Linked DNA regions of Homo sapiens: all the other regions are linked to region 1. The links are contacts of gene promoters, found by promoter capture Hi-C in blood cells and fetal thymus (Javierre and others, 2016). All regions are on one chromosome and are shown on one strand. The core of a region is centred on a gene start or on the middle of the fragment in contact, and the rest is flanking DNA. Distances in the headings are between cores, read along the strand shown.

The links. Contacts are between HindIII fragments. The CHiCAGO score rates a contact against its expected background, and 5 or more counts as called.
Region 2: a contact is called between a fragment that was not itself captured here and the fragment with the promoter of C4BPA in region 1, in 17 of 17 cell types (naive CD8 T cells, total CD4 T cells, M2 macrophages and 14 more). The highest score is 16.0, in naive CD8 T cells.
Region 3: a fragment that was not itself captured here is called in contact with the fragment with the promoter of C4BPA in region 1 in 14 of 17 cell types (naive CD4 T cells, total CD4 T cells, M2 macrophages and 11 more); the score reaches 10.5 in naive CD4 T cells.
Region 4: a contact is called between a fragment that was not itself captured here and the fragment with the promoter of C4BPA in region 1, in 11 of 17 cell types (monocytes, neutrophils, M2 macrophages and 8 more). The highest score is 10.9, in monocytes.

What each region holds. Positions count from the first base shown.
Region 1 is chr1:207,100,696-207,106,799 of GRCh38, forward strand. C4BPA (complement component 4 binding protein alpha) reads left to right here and starts at 3,538. Exons shown (of 12, transcript NM_000715.4): 1 at 3,538-3,735. The HindIII fragment of the contact is 2,080 bases long and covers 1,683-3,762 here.
Region 2 is chr1:207,404,003-207,410,106 of GRCh38, forward strand. The region is part of intron 1 of LOC124904498 (a long non-coding RNA gene); the gene reads right to left. Among named protein-coding and RNA genes, the nearest start is that of CR2, 47 kb to the right of the region's middle. The HindIII fragment of the contact is 3,763 bases long and covers 365-4,127 here.
Region 3 is chr1:207,386,256-207,392,359 of GRCh38, forward strand. No RefSeq gene overlaps it. Among named protein-coding and RNA genes, the nearest start is that of CR2, 65 kb to the right of the region's middle. The HindIII fragment of the contact is 5,948 bases long and covers 1-5,394 here.
Region 4 is chr1:207,367,803-207,373,906 of GRCh38, forward strand. No RefSeq gene overlaps it. Among named protein-coding and RNA genes, the nearest start is that of CD55, 49 kb to the left of the region's middle. The HindIII fragment of the contact is 4,216 bases long and covers 1,695-5,910 here.

The DNA of each region.
Region 1 (6,104 bases), core at 2,288-4,787:
ACCTGAAACACGTAGGATATCTAGATAAAGTGCAACCAAAATATATAAGCCAGCTTGAAATAATGGAAAATCGCTAGGTAAAGTTATGAAGGGGAATAAGAGATGGACTCTTGAGTACCCCAGAGTCTACTAATAGGCACAAGACATGTACACACGTAGCATTATTTTAGAGTGGTTAGAATGAACTAAACATTTTCAGACAACAGTGGGCTATGAGAGCTCAGATGAGAGGAGGTTCACTTCTGTCTGGGAGGAGGAGGCAGGAATATTGTCAAGGAAGAAGTCACAGTTATTTGGGCCTTCAAAAGTAAGTGAGAATTAGAGACAAAGATTAAAGAGCTCATTCCAGTTGGAAAGAATATTTGAGAAATGGAGTAAGACAATAATAAGATTTAAAACCAATTTTTTTTTTTGAGATGGAGTTTCGCTCTTGTTGCCCAGGCTAGAGTGCAATGGCGTGATCTCAGCTCACCACAACCTCTGCCTCCTGGGTTCAAGCGATTCTCCTGCCTCTGCCTCCTGAGTAGCTGGGATTACAGGCATGCGCCACCATGCCCGGCTAATTTTGTATTTTTAGTAGAGACGGGGTTTCCCTATGTTGGTCAGGCTGTCTCGAACTCCTGACCTCAGGTGATCTGCCCGCCTCGGCCTCCCAAAGTGCTGGGATTACAAGCATGAGCTACCACGCCTGGCCAATAATAAGATTTTTAACCAAGTAAATTCATTCCTAGGATTAATCTAACTGGAGGAAAATGATTTGAAATTGAAGCTACTTCTTATTTGTACATATTATCTATCTAGGAGGATCTTATGAGCATTTGAAATGTCTACTCTTAGGAAAATTTTGAATAAATTATGGTACTTTAAATGTAATGCAGACCTATATGGTGATAAATATGAGGAAGTAGAAAATCTTAAAAATACAATCTTAAGTAAAAATAGAATATTTAATAACAAGGGCTTATGATTGCATTTATGTAAAACCTTTATTCTTGTGGGAAAGGATTAGACAATAATAGGCACAGATAAAAACATTTGTCTTAGAATATGAAATTATAAGTGTTTATTCTCTTAAAACTTTTTAATGTTGTAAAATGAATTTCTAATAATAATTTTAGAAGGCATTGCACAGAGGCAGAAAAAATGGGATATGTTTAGGAACTTGCACATAGCCTGGACTGGCCTAGATGAAGCATGGAAATTGGTGAGAGAGAAGGTGGCTGGAAAGATAAGTCAAAGCCAGTTTATGGAGGCTTTTGAATGACGTGCTAGAGAATATACACTTGTTTTTGGTAGGCAGAGAATATACATTTGTTTTTTGGCAGTCAGACCATGAAGACATGGAAGCCTTGCAAACAATGAAGTAATAAGGACAGAACATAAAGAAAGATTTCTCTCACAATGTTGGTTGTAGTATTGGTTGATGAGGGAAAAGAACTAAGAGAAACCAACGAAAGGACTCCTACAATAGTCCATATGGGAGGCATTATCAACCTGAACTGGTTTGGTGGCAGCAGAAATGAAAAAGCAGCAGCAGACACGAGAGATATTGAAAACTTGTATCAAAACAACCTGTCAACTAATCAAACATTGAAGGGTGAGGGAGAGGAAGAGTTCAAAAGTGAATCTGAAATTTTATTCCCGAGAACCAGAGGTCAGAAAAAGCTGGGGTCAGAAAGTGAAGCTTGTTGGCCGGAAATGAGAAATTCCTCTTTGGATGTGCTGAGGGTGAAGTGCTTGCAAGATGTCCAGTGGGGGGAAAAAAAAAACAAAACCTAAGAAAGTAAGTCTTGAGTTTCGGAGAGTAATCAGAAATAATAATGTAGTGCTGGCTAGTCTTCTTACTGGTAATAGTTAAAGCTGTGACAGAAGGCAAGATCATTAAAATTGCGAAGATAATTTTTTTAAAAAAAGAAGAGCCTGAGATATATCTATATTTAGGAATGAGAAGGAGGAAGAGAAGGTAACAGTAACTAAGAAAGAGAAATTAGTTAAGTTAAGGGAATCAGGTAAGTTTAGTGTCATGGAAGCCAAAGGAGAAGAGAGTTTCAGAAAGGAAATGATCAGCAGTGACAAAGGCTGCAGACAGATCCTAAGAAATGAATTAAAGATATTTTGGACTTGGACCTAAGGGCGTGCCTCAGAGAGACATGTCAGTAGAAGAGTGGTAGAAGCCAGATGGGAAAGCAACAGGTGGAGTGATGAATGAGAAAGAACAGGCAGGTAGAACAAGTCACACCTTTGAGAAGTTCAGCATCACACTAAAGAAGAAAGGTGGAATTTGAGGTATTGGCAAAATTGAAGGGACATTTCAGGATGAGAGATGCATTGAAAATGAGGCAGGAAAAGAAGAAACAATTCTCCTCGGAATGAGGAGTGAATAGGAGGGAAAATTTGACATTGATGAAGCTAAGGTAGAATGATTTTTAGTAAAGTAGGAGGTAAGAGCATCTGCTGAGAGGGAATGTGACAATTTGGTGACCTGGAGAGAAAAATCTGCAAGAGTCACTGTGGAAAGTAAACGAAAGGACTTCAATACATTGGAAAACGGTACTTTAAAGAAATAGCAGCTTTAAAGGTGATATTTCTTCCAATTTAGTCTCAAGACTGTGCAATCTGGAATCCTCCTCTATCTTCATTCTGGTCAAATCAGTGTCTCACCTTGGTGACCTAGCGCATGGTTTCTTTACATCTAATATCCTTACCACTTTTATCTAATAATTTCTACCTTTTATCCAAATCTCACATCTTCTGTAGAAACTTCCTTGATTAACTCAACCTGTTGTAGTTTAGTTCCTTTTCTGAAACTCTTCTGGGACTTTCAGTATTTATTACAGAAAAAGTGAAGTTCTCAGAAAGAATTGCCTTTTAATAGCAATCTTCTGAGCACACAAATCTTAACCTTGAGGATTAGTAGCTTAATTGGACTATGTAAGTGCTTGTGGTCTTTTTAGATCTATGCGAGAGGAAACATGGCCGGTCCTTCATTGCGTTCTTCTGAGCGCACTGGATAGATCAATTTTTGGAGGCCCTCTGGTGCCTGACATGTAGTAGCAGTTAACATTTGCTGAACTCCAAATACGTTCTAGATAACTCAGCACATAGTGGAAACCCAATGCATGTTTGATAAATTCCCCACCTTTTGTAATTCCTTGGGGTGGGATAGAGACGAGCTCTGGGCAAGAATATCAGTTTTCAAACTCCAGGAAAGCATACTGGACCTAGTGTCATGGAAAGTGGATCATTTTTGCGGAGGCTCTCTGAACCTCGCAGTATCCAAGGTTTCCAGGCTAGCTGGACTGTGTCTTGCCATAACCCTTATGTGTTTATGAAAAGAAAAAAGAATTCTGGCTTCAAATTCAAATTACCTTTCCACTTAGGGGAAATGGTTGGCAGAGGAGAAAATAAACGATTGCGACATGTTACGAAGAATGAGGACTAGCAAAGAGGAAGGAGCTTAGGTAAACAGTGCTGCTTTATTTCTGCTGTTAATCATTCATTGGGCCCGTCAAAAGTTTCTGCCCATCTATTTCCATCAACCGTCCTTGACCAGCCAACCACATGGCTGAAATTCAGGGACTCTTTGGTGGAGCAATTACCAGTCAACTTCAGGGTATTATGATAAACTCTGATCTGGGGAGGAACCAGGACTACATAGATCAAGGCAGTTTTCTTCTTTGAGAAACTATCCCAGATATCATCATAGAGTCTTCTGCTCTTCCTCAACTACCAAAGGTCGGTGGACTACTAAACCCTTGGGGAAGCTTGGAGGAAAGGCTGGTGGTTTGGCCCTTTAAGGAGTGCAGGATTAGAAGGATAAAACAGAGACAAAAGCTTGGAGGTGTTTTCAGCAGAAATCTTTTCAGGAGCACTGTATTAGGGGGATGTAAGACTTGAGACGTACTTTAAACCCTATCTGAACCTCAAGTTTTAAAAATTATAAATGGAGGAATAATATTGCATTCTAATAAAATAAGCTAAAGAAGAAGAGGTGTAAGGTGTTGCTCTTGTTACTGTATCTAAAAGACAGATGTGTTGGTTTGTTGATCTTTCACCACCTTCCCACATCAGAGTTGAGGCAAGGGGTCAATCAGACTTTTCAAAGGGTTCACAGGAAGCTTGCTTTTCTTAGTCTACATTCTGAAAACTGGGGCCATTTCTATTTTGAGATTTGATTAACCACTCCAAATCTCCTCCACCACTGACAGCAAAGATGTTTAGATTTGGTAATAAGGAGGACACTGGCCAGCCTCCAGTTGGTTTCTGAAGCTAGCAGTCTTAGTCGTCCTCATCTTCTTTACTTTCTGAATTTGACGATGCTGATAACCCTTCCTTCTTGAAATTCTCTTCTTCCTTGGTTGGCCAGGATACAGTACCATTCTGGTCCTCATTTTAATTCTTCAACCACTTGTCTCTTTGCTGATTCCTATTCTATCTCTAAATATGGTAACACCAAAAGAATAAAAAGTAGACTACAGAAGAGGCAGAAGCATCAAAGAAGGTTGGCATTAAGCTTAGAGATATGTTTGAATGTAGTATGAGCACAGAATAAAGGGGCTGATAGAAAAATAAAGAGATTTGGCCAGGTACGGTGGCTCACTCCTGTAATCCCAGCACTTTGGGAGGCCGAGGCTGGCGGATCACCTGAGGTCGGGAGTTCGAGACCAGCCTGACCAACATGGAGAACCCCTGTCTCTACTAAAATTACAAAATTAGCCAGGCATGGTGGCACATGTCTGTAATCCCAGCTACTTGGGAGGCTGAGGCAGGAGGATCATTTGAACCAGGGAGGCAGAGGTTGGGGTGAGCTGAGATCGTGCCATTGCACTCTAGTCTGGGCAACAAGAGTGAAACTCCACCTCAAAAAAAAAAAAAAAAGAAAAAAAAAAGAGATTCTAGGAAGGGTGGGGAAAGTGTGGGAGCCAGTTCTTTCTGGAGTTTGTAAGTGATATAATTGAGAGCCCAGGTATAAGGAAGAAGACACTCAGCCCGAGACTGGAGAAAAATACTATCCTTTCACAAGGTATCTGCATTTTAAAAGGGGGAAGTTAGACAAAATAAATATTAACTTAAAAAGTAACTTCTCATGGAAGGAGAAATTTGAGGACTAAAGATTTTTCCAGTGACTCTCAAATTGCACTGCATTGCTAAGTGCTGATATTATTTTTCACAAGGGACCCGCCATGCTGACTAAAGTTCTTGAGTTGGTTCCATTTCTGCAGGAATTTAAAAGGTGAAGTCCTTGAAATATGAAAGTTGGCTAGAGTAGTCTCAGCTTTTCAGTGAGCAGTTACAGAATTGCAGAATTTGTTCATCTAGGTTTAATGTCATTATTTTAGAGATGGAGGGAACTGATATCCAAGAAGCTGATATAGCTTCTTCAAGATCACAGACTTAGACTGTGGTATTGCTGGAACTCCAACTTGTGTCTTCTCAGCTCGCAAGTTCTAGCCTCCATTCCCATACTCTGTGGCCAGCTGGTTTCTGCTGAGGGACCACCAGGAGTAGTTATGGTGAACTGCAAATGCCGTAGTTGGAGAAGAGTTAGGATGCATCCTGATGGTTTGTTAGGGAAGTCTAGTCACTGTATTATCTCTCTTCAAAACTGACAAAGCATTTCACACACATTATTTCATTTGGTCCTCAGTGAGACAGTCATTCTCATTCTAAAGATAAAATTAAATTGACTTTCATTCCTTTTAGATTTATTATTGTTTATTCTGTCTTATTCCTTCCTCCGTGTAAGTTTTTTTTTTTTTTTTGAAACGGAGTCTCGCTTTGTTGCCCAGACTGGAGTGCGGTGGTGCAATCTCTGCTCACTGCAAGCTCCGTCTCCCGGGTTCACAGGCCATTCTCCTGCCTCAGCCTCCCGAGTAGCTGGGACTACAGGCGCCCGCCACCACGCCCAGCTAATTTTTTGTCTTTTTAGTAGAGACAGGGTTTCACCGTGTTAGCCAGGATGGTCTCGACTTCCTGACCTCGTGATCTGCCTGCCTTGGCCTCCCAAAGTGCTGGGATTACAGGCGTGAGCCACTGCACCCGGCCTCCTCTGTGTAAGTTTTAAGCTAGTTAAATTCTGGTGCTCAAATTAGGTCTTTCTAAAG
Region 2 (6,104 bases), core at 996-3,495, 300 kb after region 1:
ATGCTTAACCTATAAATCTCACTTTTATGATACACATTCTATAAAAATATAGATACATATAAGTGTACACATACATATATGCATGATATAGTCTGGATATTTGTCCCCACCCAAATCACGTATTGAATTATAATCTCTGATGTTGGAGATGGGACCTGGAGGGAGGTGACTGAATCATGGAGCCGGATTTCTCAGGCATGGTTTAGCACCATCCACTTGGTAGTGTTCTCATGATAGTGAGTGAGTTTTCATTAGATCTGTCCATTTAAAAGTGCATGGCACCACCCCACCACCACTCTCCCTTTTGCTCCTGCTTTTGCCACGTGACATGTCTTTTCCCCCTTTGCCTTCCACCATGATTGGAAGCTTCCTGAGGCCTCTCCAGAAGCAGATACGCTATGCTTCTTGTACAGCTTGCAGAACCATAAACCAATTAAACCTCTTTTCTTATAAATTACCCAGTCTCAGGTATTTCTTTATAGCAATGAAAGAATGACCTAACATAGTACATATATAAGTACATCATCACATATATAAAACATTTTCATTGTAGACAATAAACATATAAATAATAAAGGAAATTGTCCCTAGTTTGAAGATAACCTTGAATCTATAGAGTGAATAGGGTCACAGACTTTCAGACAGAATTGATAAAGCAAATACATCTACCTAGGATTATTCTGGAAAAAAAAATCTCTGAATTCAGAGGCAGAAAGTTGTACTTTATAGAAGTTTTCGGTTACTAGGTTTATTAGATCTTTTCATGTTCCTTAATAGAAAATACATTCTTCACACTATTCTAAAAACTATATATATACTTTTTTACATTATTTTGCTTTTATAACTTACTGTCTTCTGCTACCCAGTTCCAGAGATTTGAGGTATAAATACGCCATCTAGAAGGCACTTGGAACCTTCACAGCTGACAATAGTTCACATTTCTGAAATACTAAAAATTCAAGCAAGTGTATCAAAATATCAAAGAAAGTTATCACATTGTATTGCTAATGAATATGTACTTTTTCATATATGGTTATTGGAGGGTAAGGTATTTTTTTCTTTTAAACAGCTAAGTGGACTTTGATCAGTTATGGCTATGTCTCCATCTAGTGGTAGGTAAGTACTCTAAGGATTTGCACAGTAAGTGAGGCCATTGTCACACTGAAACAGCTGAGGTGCTGAATACATAGGAATTCTGTGGTTTTTATTGGGTACACATCATCAGGGTCACCACAATTTGTCTTTTTTTTTTCTTTTTGAGACAGAGTTTTGCTCTTGTCACCCAGGCTATAGTAGTGCAATGGTGCAATCTTGGCTCACTGCAACCTCCACCTCCCGGGTTCAAACAATTCTCTTGCTTCAGCCTCCTGAGTAGCTGGGATTACAGGCACCTGCCACCATGTCCAGCTAATTTTTGTATTTTTTTTTTTTTTTTTTTTTTAGTAGAGACGAGGGTTTCACCATGTTGGCCAGGCTGATCTCGAACTCCTGACTTCAGATGATCTGCCCGCCTCGGGCTCCCAAAATGCTGGGATTCGAAGTGCAAGCCACCACACCTGGCCTTGCTTTTAATACAGGATGAAATAATATTTTCTGCTGATGATAACTTGCATTTAAATTCCTACTTGCAAATTTAGTAACATCAAGTTTTTGAGGTATTCACAAAGTCTTTTCAAACATTAACTAAAATTCAAAAGTTTAAATATATATTAAAAAAACTAGTGGCCCTTATTTATGGATTAGTTAGCTACATAGGCCTCTTATCTGTTCTTCCTGAACTTCAGAGCCAAGACTTCTTATCCACACTTATTTATAGCCCTCAGACCTTTTTAAATATGAAGTCCCAGGTATAACATTTATATACCTTTGTGATGACTCTCCATTTACTAACTGAACCTTTTGAGCCTTCATTCTGTCATCTGTAACAATGTCAATAAACACTTCACAAACCTATAATACTTTCTGCATTTATATACATTGTCTCATGTAATCCTTCCCACCACCCCCTGAGGGGGATAGAGAAAGTGTTTACTGTCTCTATCTTATGATGAGGAAGATGTAGTTCAAAGAGATCTTATAACTCATCCAAACTCAATAAACTGACAAATGGCAGAGCTAGAAATTTATATTAGATTTCTTGATTCCAAGTTCAATGTTCTTTGTAAGATTTGCCCCATTTACAACTATGATGATTAAGGGAGCTAATGTTTGTATAAATGCTTAAGTCCAATAGAACCATAATTTATTGTAAAATTACATAATAAAGATAATGAGGTCCCTGAATGTGAGACACTTATGGGGAGATCAGAGAATCCTTCATAAAAGCATATATATCAGGCTGAATTTAGCTGACCCTCAAAATGAAAATTCTCCAGAAATCTGAAGCCTATATAATCTATTAGATATATATTTTTCTATCTTCCCACTCTCTGTGGCCATCTTCTTAAAACATTACTAGGTGAATTATTGCTAAGTTTTCTTACATAAATTAGATGAACAACAAGAAAAAAGCTACATAACTTAACAAACGTATGTCTTAGTAGCAAACAACAACAACAAACCCAAACTAACTGAATGCCTGTATGTGTTGGTTGTGTGTATAAGGCGCTGTACGTAAGAAGTGTGTATGTTGGGGCTGGAGTCTGCTATAAAGAACAGTAATGTCAGATTCTTTCCCTTGAAGTTTTTGTTTCCCCTTCTCCGCCACTTCCCTTTCCCATTTCACTCTATTCCCATCAAAAGGATTCTGACTTGCATAAAACGACAGAACCACAGGAATGGGAAAGGGAAATAAAAACGGAGTCACATTTTTTTGCTCCTGTTTCATGACATCTGCACAAGTCGCCTTCCAGTCTTTAATTTCAGTGGAACCTTTAAGTACTTGTTATATGTCTTTGTAGAAAAACAGATTTCGACCATATGCTCTATGCAGAAGGGAAGCTGAATTGCAACCTCAATTTCTCCTAATTTCTGCCTCCTGACCACCCCCTCCCCACCCAATCCATGAACATCTTTACAAGTATCAGAAGCAGGCCAGGCATAGTGGCTCATGCCTGTAATCCCAGCACTTTGGGAAACCAAGGTGGGAGAATTCCTTGAGGAGGGGAATTCAAGACCAGCCTGGACAACATAGAAAGACCCAACCCCCTCCGCCGCCGCCCCACCACAAGAAGTTTTTTCTTTTTCTTTTTCTTTCTTTCCTTCTTTTTTTTTTTAATTAGCCAGGCATGGTAGTGCGCATATGAGGTCCCAGCTACTGGGGAGGCTTAGGTAGGAGGATTGCTTGAGCCCAGGAGTTTGAGGTTAAAGTGAGTTGTGCCACTGTACTCCAGCCTGGGCAATAGAGTGAGACCCTGTCTCTAGAATAATAATAATAATAATAAGAAGAAGAAGAAGAAGAAGAAGAAGAAGAAGAAGAAGAAGAAGAAGAAGAAGAAGAAGAAGAAGAAGAAGAAAAAGAAAAAAAGAAGAAGCAAAACCCAAAGAGCTAATCTCATACTTGCTCTCTTTCTTTTCTGCCACTACAGAAAACAGAAGAGGACTAGAATTACTTGTGGTCCTAATAATCTAACCAGGCATACTCAAAACTAATCGCAAATGTTTCTTTTAGGATGTATACAAGGCCTAAAATTGACTTTGGAAACATTGAGTATCTTCCCTTCCCATCACAGGCAATAAACAAATGTGGGCTGGTGCACATCTTTTCCTGCCCCTGAAAAGGTTTTATTACCTCTGGACAAGTGATTTCCTAACCTGAGGTCAATATTATCTTAATCATATTTCACAGATAGGCCAATGCTTAGCATATTCTCCAAATCACAAGAAATTTTGAGTTGTACTTAGAAAAGACATTAGGTTGAGTGTCAGGAAATCAGATTCCAGCCCCAGCTGTCATTGGCAGATATGATCCTGGGTGGGTCATTTACCACTCAGGACCTTAATTCCCTCTCTTGAGAATTTAAGAACTTAAAGTAGAGAATCTCAAAGCTGTCTGCTAACATGACTATACTTTAAGCAAGAACTGGAAATGAGTTGCTGACCTTTCCTTCATAGTTCCTGGTAGTGAAATGAATCAATTCTATTGAGCAATCATTGCAGAAGAACCTGCTGTGAAGATAACTGATGCAAGCTTGTTAAAAGCTCTTCCAAGAGTGGATCCCACATTTCCCTTACATTTAACGTGTCATTTAACATAGTTAATCTTTGTTTTCTCAAGAGTGAAATGGATAAACACTCAACTTCAGAGGTGTTTTTTTCTGCCTCTTGAGAATCACAATTATCATTGCTGGTCTTCCTTTTTCTTTTTCTTAGTAAACTTTAATCTAGATTTTAAAGTTTCATGGAAATAGATATTTGGGTTCTTTCAGGTTTTTTTCTGATATACAATTCAAGTTTTTTCCTTTGAGGTACTCTTCTGGGCTCCCTGTCTGAAAGAAGAGTTGCCTATGGATAGAACGTTGCTCTCTGTCCTCAATTAGCCAACAAAGCCCATCAAGGCTGCCCTGCTCAGTGCTAAGGCCATCTCGCTCCCAAAACCTGCCCTCACCCCTTGCTACTTGTCCCTCCAGTGATCCTGGATCCTTTTGGAGAGAGGTTGTCCTAAGAGCCCAATAGAGGAATCAGGCACCCGGATCAGTTGTTTCCCTGCTGTGTTCCCTAAGTTAATGTCATGCTCTCCTACACCCACATTTTTGTCCCTCCACACTTTTACAAAAACTCTCAAAAACAATATCCAGAGTGCCATGGTTTCCAAATGATTTATTCCTTTGCAGAAGACCCCAAGAAGTCCCATCTTCTTCAGGGAAATCTGGGACAATCCAATTGCATAAATTTCCAGCTAGGGGTATCTAGGGATTTTCTTAAAGCAAGGAGTTATGAAGGGCTTCCAACTGCTCCTGAAGTTTCCAACTATGAGGCCAACCAGAGACTCTTTCAGTCCCACACTACATGAGCCCTCTGGGAGATACCCACTCCTTCTGGAGCCATAAGCAAGCAGGAACAGGTTTTAGGGCACTCACCAGCCCCCACCTCCTTCTCACAGAAGGGTCTTCCTGCCCCTGCATCCCACTCTACTGTGGCTTCAGATTCTGATACTGTCCCTGGGTGGTCCCATAACAGCCACCTGAGAGTACCACCATTCATTTCTCCTCCATTCCTACTCCCATTTATAAGGTTTTGTTTATTTTGCTGGTTGTTATATGTTTATTATATCAGTGTCAATACATCTTTGTATATCTGAATTAATTATAACAAATAAAATGGAAAAGGATTGGAACCACTTTATCATTTTCCACACTAGCTAATGAAAGCATTGCTTCTTCGAGGAGATACAACTTCTTACTGAGTTTTTCTAATGCTATATTTCTAATCAGATTAACAGAGAAAATAAAAAATAGCTGCTAGTCAAGAGATCATTTACACACTTGAATATCTAACAATTATCTTGAGGCAAAAAGGTAAAATTTTGTCTTAAGTTTCATTTTAAAGAAATTAAACTGGCCAGGTGCAGTGGCTCATGCCTGTAATCCCAGCACTTTGGGAGGCCGAGGCGGGCAGATCACCTGAGGTCGGGAGTTAAAGACCAGCCTGACCAACATGAAGAAACTCTGTCTCTACTAAAAATACAAAATTAGCTGGGAGTGGTGGCACACGCCTGTAATCCCAGCTACTCGGGAGGCTGAGGCAGGAGAATTGCTTGAACCTGGGTGGCGGAGGTTGCAGTGAGCCAAGATCGCACCATTGCACTCCAGCCTGGGCAACCAGAGTGAAACTCCGTCTCAAAAAAAAAAAAAAGAAAAAAGAAAAAAATTAATATCATTTCTTGTGTTCTTTTCAACAGATATTCATTCATAACTGTATTAGGCTGGGGTTCCATTAGGAGCCCTGGAGCGTACAAATTAAAATAGCATGCTCCATGCCAGTACTTTACAATCAAATAAGGATATAATAAATTGCTATACTAGCACTTGAAATTTACTTGGGAAACAAAGCATAACATAAATAATATATTCATGAAAAGTTAAAGACTAATGGGAGAAAGTACTTACAAACTATGCATCCAACAAAGTTCTAATATCCAGAATCTATAAGGAACTTAAACAGTT
Region 3 (6,104 bases), core at 1,171-3,670, 280 kb after region 1:
GCTGGTAGTATTAATCTCAAGGACAAAGTCAAAAGTATTTATAAGGATTCAAAGAGGTGCTCATAGAGCTATTGAGAAATTTTTTTTAATTTCTTCCTAGCATTTAGAAATATTCTACTTTAAAAGGTAAGATAAATAAAAGAAGAGATGAAAAAGGAGACATTACAACCAATACCACAAAAATTCAAAAGATCATTAGAAGGTATTATGAGCAACTGTATGCAAATGAATTGGAAAACCTGAAAGAAATGGATAAGTTCCTAGACATATATACCTACTGAGATTGAATCATGAAGAGATAGACCACCTAAATAGGCCAATAACAAGTAATAAGATAGACACAGTAATAAAAAGTGTTCCATCAAAGAAAATCCCAGAACCTTATGGCTTTCCTGCTAAATTCCACTAAACACTTCAAGAAGAACTAATATCAATCCTACTCAAACTATTTCAAAAAATTACAGAGAAGAAAATACATCCAAATTCATTTTATAAGGCCAGCATTACCCAGATATCAAAAACAGACAAAGATACACAACAATGAAAAAACAAAACCAAATGCCAATATCTCTGATGAACATAGATGGGAAAACTGTCAATAAAATACTCGCAAACTGAATTCAACAACACATTATAGATTATTCATCATAATCAAGTGGGATTCATTCCAGAAAAGCAAGGATGGTTCAATATGTGCAAATCAGTAAATGTAATACATCACATCAACAGAATGAAGGAAAAAATGATTTCAATAGACACCAAAAAAGTATTCAATAAAATTTAACATTCTTTCATGATAAAAAAATAAAACTCTCAACAAAGTGGGTATAGAAGGCAAATACCTCAACACAAAAAAGGCTGTATGTGACAAACCTGTAACTAGTATTATACTGAATGGGGAAACACTGAAAGCCTTTCCACTAAGGTGTGGAACAAGACAAAGATTTCCACTTTTACCACTTTTATTCAACATTGTAATGTAAGTCTTAGAGCAATTAGGCAAGAAAAAGAAATGGCAGTTAAATAGAAAGAAAGAAATCGACTTATTCTTACTTGGATATTATCTTATAGTTAAAAAAGCCTAAAACCTTCACTAAAAAACTATTTGAACTAATAAACAAATGCAGTAAAGTTACAGGATAGAAAATCAATTCACAAAAAATCAGTAGCATTTCTATATGCCAACAGCAAACAAGCTAAAAAAAGAGAGAAAGCAATTCTATTTACCATAGCTACAAAAAAACCCATAGAAATCTACTTAAAGAAGTGAAAGGTCTTTACAATGAAAACTATAAAACTCTGATTCAAGAAATTGAAAAAGACATAAACATATGAAAACATATTCCATGTTCATGCATTAGAAGAATCAATATTGTTAAAATATCCATACTACACAAAGCAATCTACAGATTCAGTGCCATTCCTATCAAAATATCAATGATATACTTCACAGAAATAGGAAATACAATCCTACAATTTATATGAAATCACAAAAGGCCCAGAATAGACAAAGCTATCCTGAGCAAAAAGAACAAAGCTGGAGGCATCCCATTAGTTGGCTTCAAATTATATTTCAGAGCTATAGTAACCAAAACAGCATAGTATTGGCATAAAATCAGACATGTAGGCCAATGGAACAGAATAGAGAACCCAGAAATAAATCCTTGCATTTACAGTCAATTCATTTTCAAAAAAAGGTGCAAAGAACATACGTCGTGGAAAAGACAGTCTTTTCAGCAAATGATGCTAGAAAAACTGGATATCCATATGCAAAAGAATGAAACTAGATCCCTATCTCTCCACATATACAAAAATCAAATCAAAATAGATTAAAGACTTAAATCTAAGACCTGAAGCCGTAAAACTACTAGAAGAAAGCGTTGAGGAAATTAATTGAGGCAAAGATTTCTTGAGTAAGAGCTCAAAAGCACAGGCAATGAAAGCAGAAGTGGACAAATGGGATCATATACAGCTAAAAAACTACACAGCAAAGGAAACAGTCAACAAAATGAAGAGACAACCCACGGAATGGGAGAAAATATTTGTAAACTATTCCAATGACAAAAGATTAATAACCAGAATATATAAGGATCTCTAATAACTCAATAGCAAGAACCAAATAACTGGATTTAAAAATGGGCAAGAGATCTGAATAGTCACTTCTCAAGGGAAGACATATGAATGGTCAACAGATATCTGAAAAAATGCTCAACATCACTAATTATCATGGAAATGCAATCAAAACCACAATGAGTTACCCCAGTTAAAATGGCTTTCATTGAAAAGACAAAAAACAATGAATGCTGGCGAGGATGCAGAGAAAGGAATGCTGATACACTGTTGGTGAGAATGTAAGTTAGTACAGCCACTATGGAAATCAGTATGGAGTTTCAGCATGGAAAAAAATAAAAAACAGAACTACCATATGATCCAGCAATCCCACTGCTGGGTATATATTCAAAAGAAAGAAAATCAGTATATCAAACAGATACCTGCACTCCTATGTTTATTGCAGCACTATTCACAATAGCCAAGATAAAGAATCAACATAAGTGCCCATCAACAGATGAATGGATGAAGAAAATATGGCACACATACACAATAGAATATTATTCATCCATAAAAATGAATGACATCCTGTCACTTGCAACAACATGGATGGTAATGGAGGTCATTGTGTTAAATAAACCAGGGACAGGAAGAAAAATATTGCATGTTGTTGCTCATATATGGAAGTTAAAAAAGTGATCTAATGGAGGTAGAGAGTAGTCACTGGAGGCTGGGAAGGGTATTGGGGAGGGATGATAAAGAGAGATTGGTTCATGGCTACAAAAATACTGTTAGATAGAAGGAATAAGATACTGAGTTCAGTAGCACAATAGTGAAAATATCGTATATTTAAAAATAACTAGAGAAGTGGATTTGGAATATTCCCAACACAAAGAAATGATAAATGTTTGAGGTGATGGATATACCAATTACCCTGCTTTGATAATTATACATTGTGTTCTTGTATCAAAATATGACATGTACACTATAAATATGTACAACTATTATGTATCTATAAAAATCAAACATTTTTAAAAGGTAAGAAATAGTTCTCATTAAAAATATCACTGAGATTATTTTTCCATTATAAATTATGTTTCAAAGAACCCAACACAATAAGAACATTCAAAACTCATTTGCAACTTCTGTGGAGGTTTTATCTCTAACCCTCTCTCATTTATTTTATCATACTTTTCTAGCTTTAAAACATATTTCCTTTAGATGTCCTGGGATAAAAAAGACAGAGGTCATGTACCCGTTTTGCTTTATATTTAATAAATCTAAATAGAATCAACTGCTAATCATTTCCTTTTACACCTAATGCTTTTATATATACAAAATTATTGGATCAAGGCAAAGGATTCTATAAGGTAGGGAGTGATTCCCTAAGTTGGGCTGTGTATCAGTGTCACTTCTTCAGACATACAGATGCCTGGTATAAAAGTTGGTCACATGAATTGGGTCATTTTTATCATATCCAACTAAAACAGTCAATTGGCCAGGGGGAAAAAGCATTCAGAACACATAACATTGATCAAAGAATGCAATTCTATGCAAGCCTGGTTGCTGAAACTGCCTTCTGTAACCTGAAATTGGTTTTTCTAATTACTGAAACAACCTGCTGTGACTCTAAGACTAGTTTTACCCAAGGCTGTCACTCACCAATCAGAAGTTGCCAGCTCCCCCAAACTTTACTAGTGCCAATAAACTTTCCTACAAAATAATATGCAACATTTCTCGTTTTTGTTTTTGTTTTTTTATAAAACCTCTAACCTCTTTGTTTTACAGACATACCATGGACCACCCAGTCTGTGTGTATGCCCCAAATTATAAGTCTTGCTTCCCAAATAAAACATTTTAAATTTAGAGATTCATCTCTAGTTTTATTTGACTTTGACACTAGTCATAGATCCAGATCACCTGAGTTAGATTTTCCAGTGGTGAAAAATAAAAACTCATGATGTGTCACAGGTGACTCACATATAGCCAAGTGTGAGAGCCACTGTTTTAGACATGAGTATATGCACAGAATGAGTAGCTGCTTACATGTAATGAGTATATAATGAATAGCTGTTTAAATGAGTAGAATGTTTTAATGTCTTCTATTAAAGTCTGAAATATTCTGATAGATTTACCAGAGGTCTACCTACTCTAATTTCTGGATACAAGATGCTGAATTACAATAAATCAGTATTTATGATGTCACTGTAATTGAGTTTGAAATCTAATTAACTTTACATTTTTACATTTTGCCAAATATTGCCAAGTCTATTTTTAACATTAAATGCTCCTGGCTCAGTGATATGGAGAAAAATAACATCTTAAATCATTCAGTAAAACCTAATTATAATTTTAATAAATACATTGTCACTTTTATCAAAGTAGGTTATTCACTAAAATTTTAACCTTTATTAGTTTGCTTAGAATCTTAATGAAATAATAAATCAAATGTAGTATTTTACATCTTAAAATTTTTAGTATTTAAAAAATCTTGGAAGCAATTAATATAAGAAATTTTTATATGTTGACACCAATGGTTTATAATTATTGGATTTTATTTTTCTTGACATGATTATAATAAAAGAAACTTAGTAGTAGTGATCTTCATTGTTGTAGTTGCGGATTTGTTAAAACTCCTTTCTGGTAGGTAAAATAAATCAGCCCATTTTAGCTTTAGGAAAATTCAATGTATATGTATGTGAAGGGTGTTTTATAAGGATATAGGAGTCTCACAGACCCCACTGACAGTACTATAGCTGCCTTCAGATGGGCAGTGGAGCCAGGCCCTGGAAGGCAGTCAGGGTCTTCTCTGCATCTTTCTTCTTTTTTCTCTTTGGGTGCCTGCTTACATTTTTGTTGCTTGTTGTTGTTGGTTTTTTTTTTTTTTTTTTTTTTTGTCGTTCTTTGGACTGTTCTGCTACATTGTCTGTATACAGCAGGAGACATGATAACCAATTGTTTCCAGGTGTTGCATTTCTATTCAGGAGATACATCCAGACAGAAGCTAGAATCTCTTAGACATAGCCAAATTCCAGGAATTTAACTCTAGTACTGGTCAGTGAAGGGCCAAGCAACCCTGAAGTCAGTTTCTATGGCTAGAGTCATAAGGTCATCATGAAAAAAAATTTCAGCCAGAATCCAGTCTGGTAACCTTGTAGATTGCCTAAGTCAGTTTCCAAGGAAGAAGATTACTGGCAGAAAGTTTAGTAGATGTCCACTTGTATTAGTCTGTTCTCACACTGCTATAAAGAACTACCTGAGACTGCATAATTTATGAAGAAAAGAAGTTTAAATGACTCTTAGTTTTGCAGGCTTAACTGGAAGCATGACTGGGAGGCTTCAGGAAGCTTACAATCATGGTGGAGGGTGAAGGGGAAGCAAGCACATTCTCACATGATGGAGCATGAGAAAGAGAGCAGGAGCAAGGGGGGAAGTGCCACACACTTTTAAAACCACCAGATCTCATGAGAGCTCACTCTCTATCATGAGAACAGCATGAGGGAAATCTGCCCCAATGATCCAGACATCTCCCACCAGGTCCCTCCTCCAACACTGGGAATTACAATTCAACATGAGATTTGGGTGGGGACACAACCAAATTATATCACCACTTCCAAGCCTAACTGAACGCATGTGGCTAAAGGGTAACTTTTCTTAATGTTTTGGGTATACTTCATTATTTAATGTACACATTGATGCTGGATTAATATTTAGGGGTAGAACTTCAACAATGTTATTTTTGGAACTTTTAATAAATTGAAGATTTCTCTACTTAAATCTCTTGAACTATCTAGAGAATAAATTTCAGAACTGTATCCTTATTTAATAATTACTAAAATCTGGCTCTAGCCTTCCAATCAAGTACTATTTTGCACTCCTCCTTGTTTCTTCAGCCAAACTGGAGAACTCCTTAATCACAACCCACTCTCCATGCTTTAGCTATCTGTTTAGTTCACTCAAAGGGTCTTCCCACTCATATACTAATATGCCCAAATCTTATACATTTTTCACAGTTGAAATGTCAACCCCTACAATGACCAACTCCTCACACCAAA
Region 4 (6,104 bases), core at 2,553-5,052, 270 kb after region 1:
ATAAAATAAGAATTTGAGTCCATACTGATATAATTGAATAATAAAGAGAAGAAAGACACCTTCTTTATAGCAAGATTCCAATTACCTACATGTAGTAAAAATGATGCAATTAGAAAGTCAGCATTTGGCAACCATCACAGTAATAATTATTTCAGGCAAGAATCAATGAATGCTAAATCAGTAAAAGTCTGATGAGAAATAATTATATACTCTTCAATTTTTTCTCCACAAAATACTTAATTGCAAATAATAACTTTGCGGAAGAAAAACCTGACAGACACTATTTTAGCCAAGTGATCAAAACTAACATCACTGATATTGGGACAAATAACACCTAGTTCCTCCTGATAGGATACATTGAAAAGAACTCTGTCATTTCTGTGTGATTGTTGCCAAAAATCATAATCTGAATCAAAATATGAGGAAGTATCCGAAAAAAGACAACTTGACCGTCATCCTACAAAATACCTCTTCCAGAGTGGAAAGGTAGTGAAAATCAAGTAGAAGAAGGGAAATAGAAATTTAAAAAATTAAGAAATGAAATAATAAAGGTAAGTGTAAAAATTAAAATAGAAAACAAAAATAATAGTGAAAATGAAATCAAAAGCTGGGTCTTTAAAAAAAATAAAATTGATAAACTTCCATTTAGATGGGTAAAGAATAAAGAGATAAGACAGAAATTGCCACCCATGAACTTTTAGTAATGCAACAGAATACATCACTCACTGCAGAGCATAATCATTGGAAGAAAAATATGAGAATATGGCAGGCAACTTTATGCCAATAAATTCAATAAACTGGGGATCACGATTATGATCAACATTCACTTTTGAAAGGGCCATGGAGGAAAATGAACCAGGAAGATCCTCCCTGGGGCAGAGCTACCACTGGATGAAATGAACAATTCATTGAAAGACACAAATTACCAAAACTAACCCAATAAGCAATATAAAACTTGAATTGCCCTATTAATTCAAGAAATTGCATTTTTAATTAAAAATCTTTCCAAAAAGAAAAATTCATGCCTAAATGGCTTCACTTGTAAACTCTAGCATTTAAGGAAGAAATAAAACCAATTGTACACAAACTCTTTGAGAAAATAGAAAATACTTCCAAACTCATTTCATGAGGCCAAATATATTAAAAAACTACAGACAAATATCCCTCATGAATATAGACACAAATATACTTAACAAAATTTTAACAAAACAAATTAGTATATGTAAAAGAATACTTACTATACATCATGATGGAATGAGGTTTATCTGGGGAGTGAAAGGTTGGTTTGACATCCAAAAATTAATCAATGTAATTCACCATATTAGAATAAAGAAGAAAATATAATCATTTCAATAAATGCAGGAAAAGCTTTTTGTAAAGTTCAACACTAATTTGTGATTTCAAAAAATCTATCAGCAAACTAAGAATAAAAGAAACATTTCTCTTAATCTAATTAAGGGCATCTTCAAAAACCTACATCTTTCACTGTACTCAATATTGAAAGCCTCAATGCTTTCTACCTAAGATAAGGAACAAGGCAGGGATATCTATTCTGCCATTTCTGTTCAACATTATACTGGAAGTTTTAGCCAGTGCAGTAAGGCAAGAAAAAGAAATGACAGTCAATAAATTGGAAAGGGAGAAGAAAGTCGTTTTTATTGGTAGATGACATGACCAAGTATTAATACATAGAAAGCTTAAAGAGTCTACTAGAACTAATAAGTGAATTTATTGAGGTCAGAATACAATGTTAATGTATAAAAATTATAATTTTATGTATTAGCAATGAACAATTAGAAAATGAATTTCGAAAACAACTTCATTTCCAACAGCATCCAAAAACATGTTAGAGATAAATTTTACAAAACATGGAAGATAGTTTCTTTTCCTGTGCAGAAGCGCTTTAGTTTAATTAGATCCCATTTTTCATAAAAAAAGAATGAGATCATGTCCTTTGCAGGGACATGAATGAAGCTGGAAGCCAACATTCTCAGCAAACTAACACAGGAACGGAAAACCAAACACCACATGTTTTCACTCATAAGTGGGAGTTCAACAATGAGAACAGATGGACACAGGGAGGGGAACATCACACACCAGGGCCTGTCAGGGAGTGGGGGGCAAGGAGAAGGAGAGCATTAGGACAAATACCTAATACATGCGGGGCTTAAAACCTAGATGACAGGTTGATGGCTGCAGCAAACCACCATGGCACATATATGCCTATGTAACAAACCTGCATGTTCTGCACATGTATCCCAGAACTTAAAGTAACATTTTTTAAAAACGGAAGAATTCTATTTAAAAAAAAAAAACTATAAATTTTGCTGAGAGAAATTACAGACTTAAGTAAATGTTATTAACATCATTTTCGTGGGTTGGAACACTCAATATTGTTAAGATAGCAATTCTCCACACATCAATTTATAACTCCAATAGATATTTTTAAAAAGTGATTCCAAATTTATATTAAAATGAATTGCCTCTCTTAAACCTCCCTTATAATTTTTTTAAAAGATTTCAGAAGACTAAACACTATATTACACAGACTCCATTGAAGCTAGGAGTCTAGGAGAAAATTTGATCTACAACGTAACAAGCAGTTATGTGATATTTATTTGGAGGTCAGAATTAAGGTGTAGGTCAACTTCCTACTGCTGCTTCTATTTCCAGCAAGATAAGATCAGCCACAGGTGATTGTGGTGGTCTTTTTCTACTTTCATTTATCTAGTCATCAACTTTATGGGAATAAAAATCTGCGGTAGTGTGTCTGGAATTGCTGGGTTCTTGGTCTCGCTGACTTCAAGAATGAAGCCGCAGACCCTCACGGTGAGTGTTACAGTTCTTAAAGATGATGTGTCTGGAGTTTCTTCTTACTGGTGGGTTTGTGGTCTCGCTGACTTCAGGATTGAAGCTGCAGACCTTCACAGTGAGTGTTACAGCTCTTAAAGGCGGCGCGTCTGGAGTTGTTTGTTCCCTTCAGTGGGTTCGTGGTCTCGCTGGCCTCAGGAATGAAGCTGCAGACCTTCGTGGTGAGTGTTACAGCTCATAAGGGTGGTGCGGACCCAAAGGGTGAGCAGCAGCAAGATTTATTGTGAAGAGCAAAAGAACAAAGCTACCACACAGTGGAAAAGGACCCAACTGGGTTGCCGCTGCTGGCGGGGGCAGCCTGCTTTTATTCCCTTATCTGGCCCCACCCACATCCTGGCGATTGGTCCATTGTACAGAGAGATGATTGTTCCATTTTACAGAGAGCTGATTGGCCCATTTTACGGAGAGCTGATTGTTCTGTTTTGACAGGGTGCTGATTGGTGCGTTTAGAAACCTGGAGCTAGACAGAGTACTGATTGGTGCATTTACAATCCTTTAGCTAGACACAAAAGTTCTCCAAGTCCCCACTAGAATAGGTAGACACAGAGCACTGATTGGTGTCTTTACACACCTTGAGCTAGACACAGAACGCTGATTGGTGCATTTACAAACCTTTAGCTAGACATTAAAATTCTCCAAATCCCCACCTGACTCAGGAGACCAGCTGGCTTCTCCTAGTGGATCCTGCCCTGGGCAGAGCTGCCCGCCAGTCGCACGCTGCGGCGTGGGCACTCCTCAGCCCTTGGGCAGTCGATGGGACCAGGCGTGGCAGAGCAGGGGGCAGCACCCATCTGGGAGGCTCAGGCCACGCAGGAGCCCACCGGTAGGGGGGCTCAGGCATGGTGGGCTGCAGGTCCCGAGCCCTGCCCCGCAGGGAGGTGGCTGAGGCCTGGGAGAATTTGAGCGCGGCACGGGCGGGCCGGCAGTGCTGAGGGACCTGGCGCACCCTCCACAGCTGCTGGCCCGGGTGCTAAGCCCCTCACTGCCCGGGGCTGGCAGCACCAGCCGGCTGCTCTGAGTGTGGGGCCCGCTGTGCCTTACCCACCCAGAACTGGCGCTGGTCTGCGAGCGCGGCATGCAGCCCCGGTTCCTGCCTGCGCCTCTCCCTCCACACCTCCCGGCAAGCAGAGGGAGCCGGCTCCGGCCCGGCCAGCCCAGAGAGGGGCTCCCACAGTGCAGCGGCGGGCTGAAGGGCTCCTCAAGCATGGCCAGAGCGGACACGGAGGCCGAGGAGGCGCCGAGAGTGAACGAGGGCTGCTAGCACGTTGTCACCTCTCAGTAGGAGAGCGATTGTAGCAGCAGCAGATTCCTGAACTCCATGATTTCGATGGTGTGATCCTGAAGTCAGTTGTTCAGAGGCAGTTCTCTAACATTTCCAGCTTTCTTTCAAAGAAACTAAGAGGGATTTTTGTTTTCTTCACTGAAATTTGGCTAATCCAATATTCCACAACTCTTAACTATTTTTATTTCAGTTTCCTTCCCCTTAGCTAATCAATTAAGTTAATCCACTAAGTTCATCAGTGCCTTCCAGTCCACTGATTCTCTCTCAACATTCACTTTTGAAAGGGCCATGGAGGAAAATGAACCAGGAAGATCCTCCCTGGGGCAGAGCTACCACACTAGAGGCACACAGTATTGAGTATAATGAGACTTACAGAGAAGAATATAGCAATCTGGGGAAGCAGACCACACTTACTGAAAGTAGCACTGCAGAAGTAGTGTTTATTAATTTAGATTGTAATTTGAAATTGCCACATTATTCATTTCTAAGATTTCAAATTGCTTTATATCTGACAGTTTGTACTTCAGACCTGCCTATTTTTGTTTTACAGGTCCTATTTAGTTACTAATGGATATTGATCCTTTATTTCTCAGATTTGTTTTGATATGTTTATCACATTTTTCTATTAAGAGAAATTCCACTTAGAGTCAGTTCCTTTCCAAAGTTGATTTTGTTGGCTCTCTCTCATGGCATTGCATTTCTTCACATTTTACAGTTGTGATTTGCAAGTTTTTTAAGTAGACTTTTTAGTTTGTTTCATTCTTTGGTAGATTGTATTAATGTTTCTAATTCTTTACTCCTTCCCTTTTACAGAATTATAACTGGACATCTTTTGCCAGGTGACTTTTCAGTGCCTTCCACTATAGTAGATGGAATATACTTCCCCACTCCATTGAGTCCATTTTTTGTTGGCTAACCTGTAGTTTTAAGATTGTAATTTTTTTAAATCTAGTTACCTTGATTGCTTTTTAGAGAGCTATTAGTCCCAATAACTTAGACCACCATTATTTAAAAATGGAATTCCTAACCACAATGTGTGCACCTCATCATAGGAAGGAACACAAATGGGGGAGTAGAAGAAAACAGAAATGTATTAATAGGCGACAGTGAGTACTTCAGCTTTATGTGTAATGTTTTATTTCTTGTATTACAAAGTAAAAGATATGAAGCATTTGACTAAAAATGTTAATTTATATAATTTGAATGATGGGTACATGGGCAGTTGTTATATTTATATATACTTTTATGTATTCTAAATTTTTTTCTCAAAATAAAAAAGAGAAACAGTCAAGGGTTAGTATTGTGTCATCAAACTCATTACAGACCTCAATTCATTTTGTTTTATTTATTTCTGAACAACATAATTTGAGGAAGTAAAGCATACTTTAAGGAAATCTGTAGAAGGGCAAAGTAAAAGCATTTGAAAAAGTCTCATCACCTGAAAAAGGCAGAGAAAAAAAGAACAAAAGGAAGAAGTGTTCTAGAGGTCTCATCTAGTTTGTATAGGGAAGAAAGTTGAGGTAATACAGCTGTGTGGGAAAAGGGATAGATTCATATATACTTGTTCTTGAGAGCAGACATGTTGTTAACAATGAATGAAATGGAAACACACAACTAATCTTTGAAAGAATGAGATGAACCTGAAAAAAAAAACAACAAAAATAAGAAAAAAAGGAAATAATGATTTAAAATAGATAATGAAGAAACTAAGATACAGACATTAAATAAAATGTAAATGGATTGTTTTCTTTCACTAAAGCTTAAAGATTAGAAAACAAAAGCTGTGTATGAGGGACATGGTGAAATAGTAAAGAAGGGTGGAAAATAAAAGATAAGCAAAGATAAAATGTAAGGTCAGACCAATTATAAAAGGCAAAGATTTATGAAAAAGGTAACATTCATAAATATGTATATATCAAACTACATGCAACTAGCTAAATACATAAAGCAA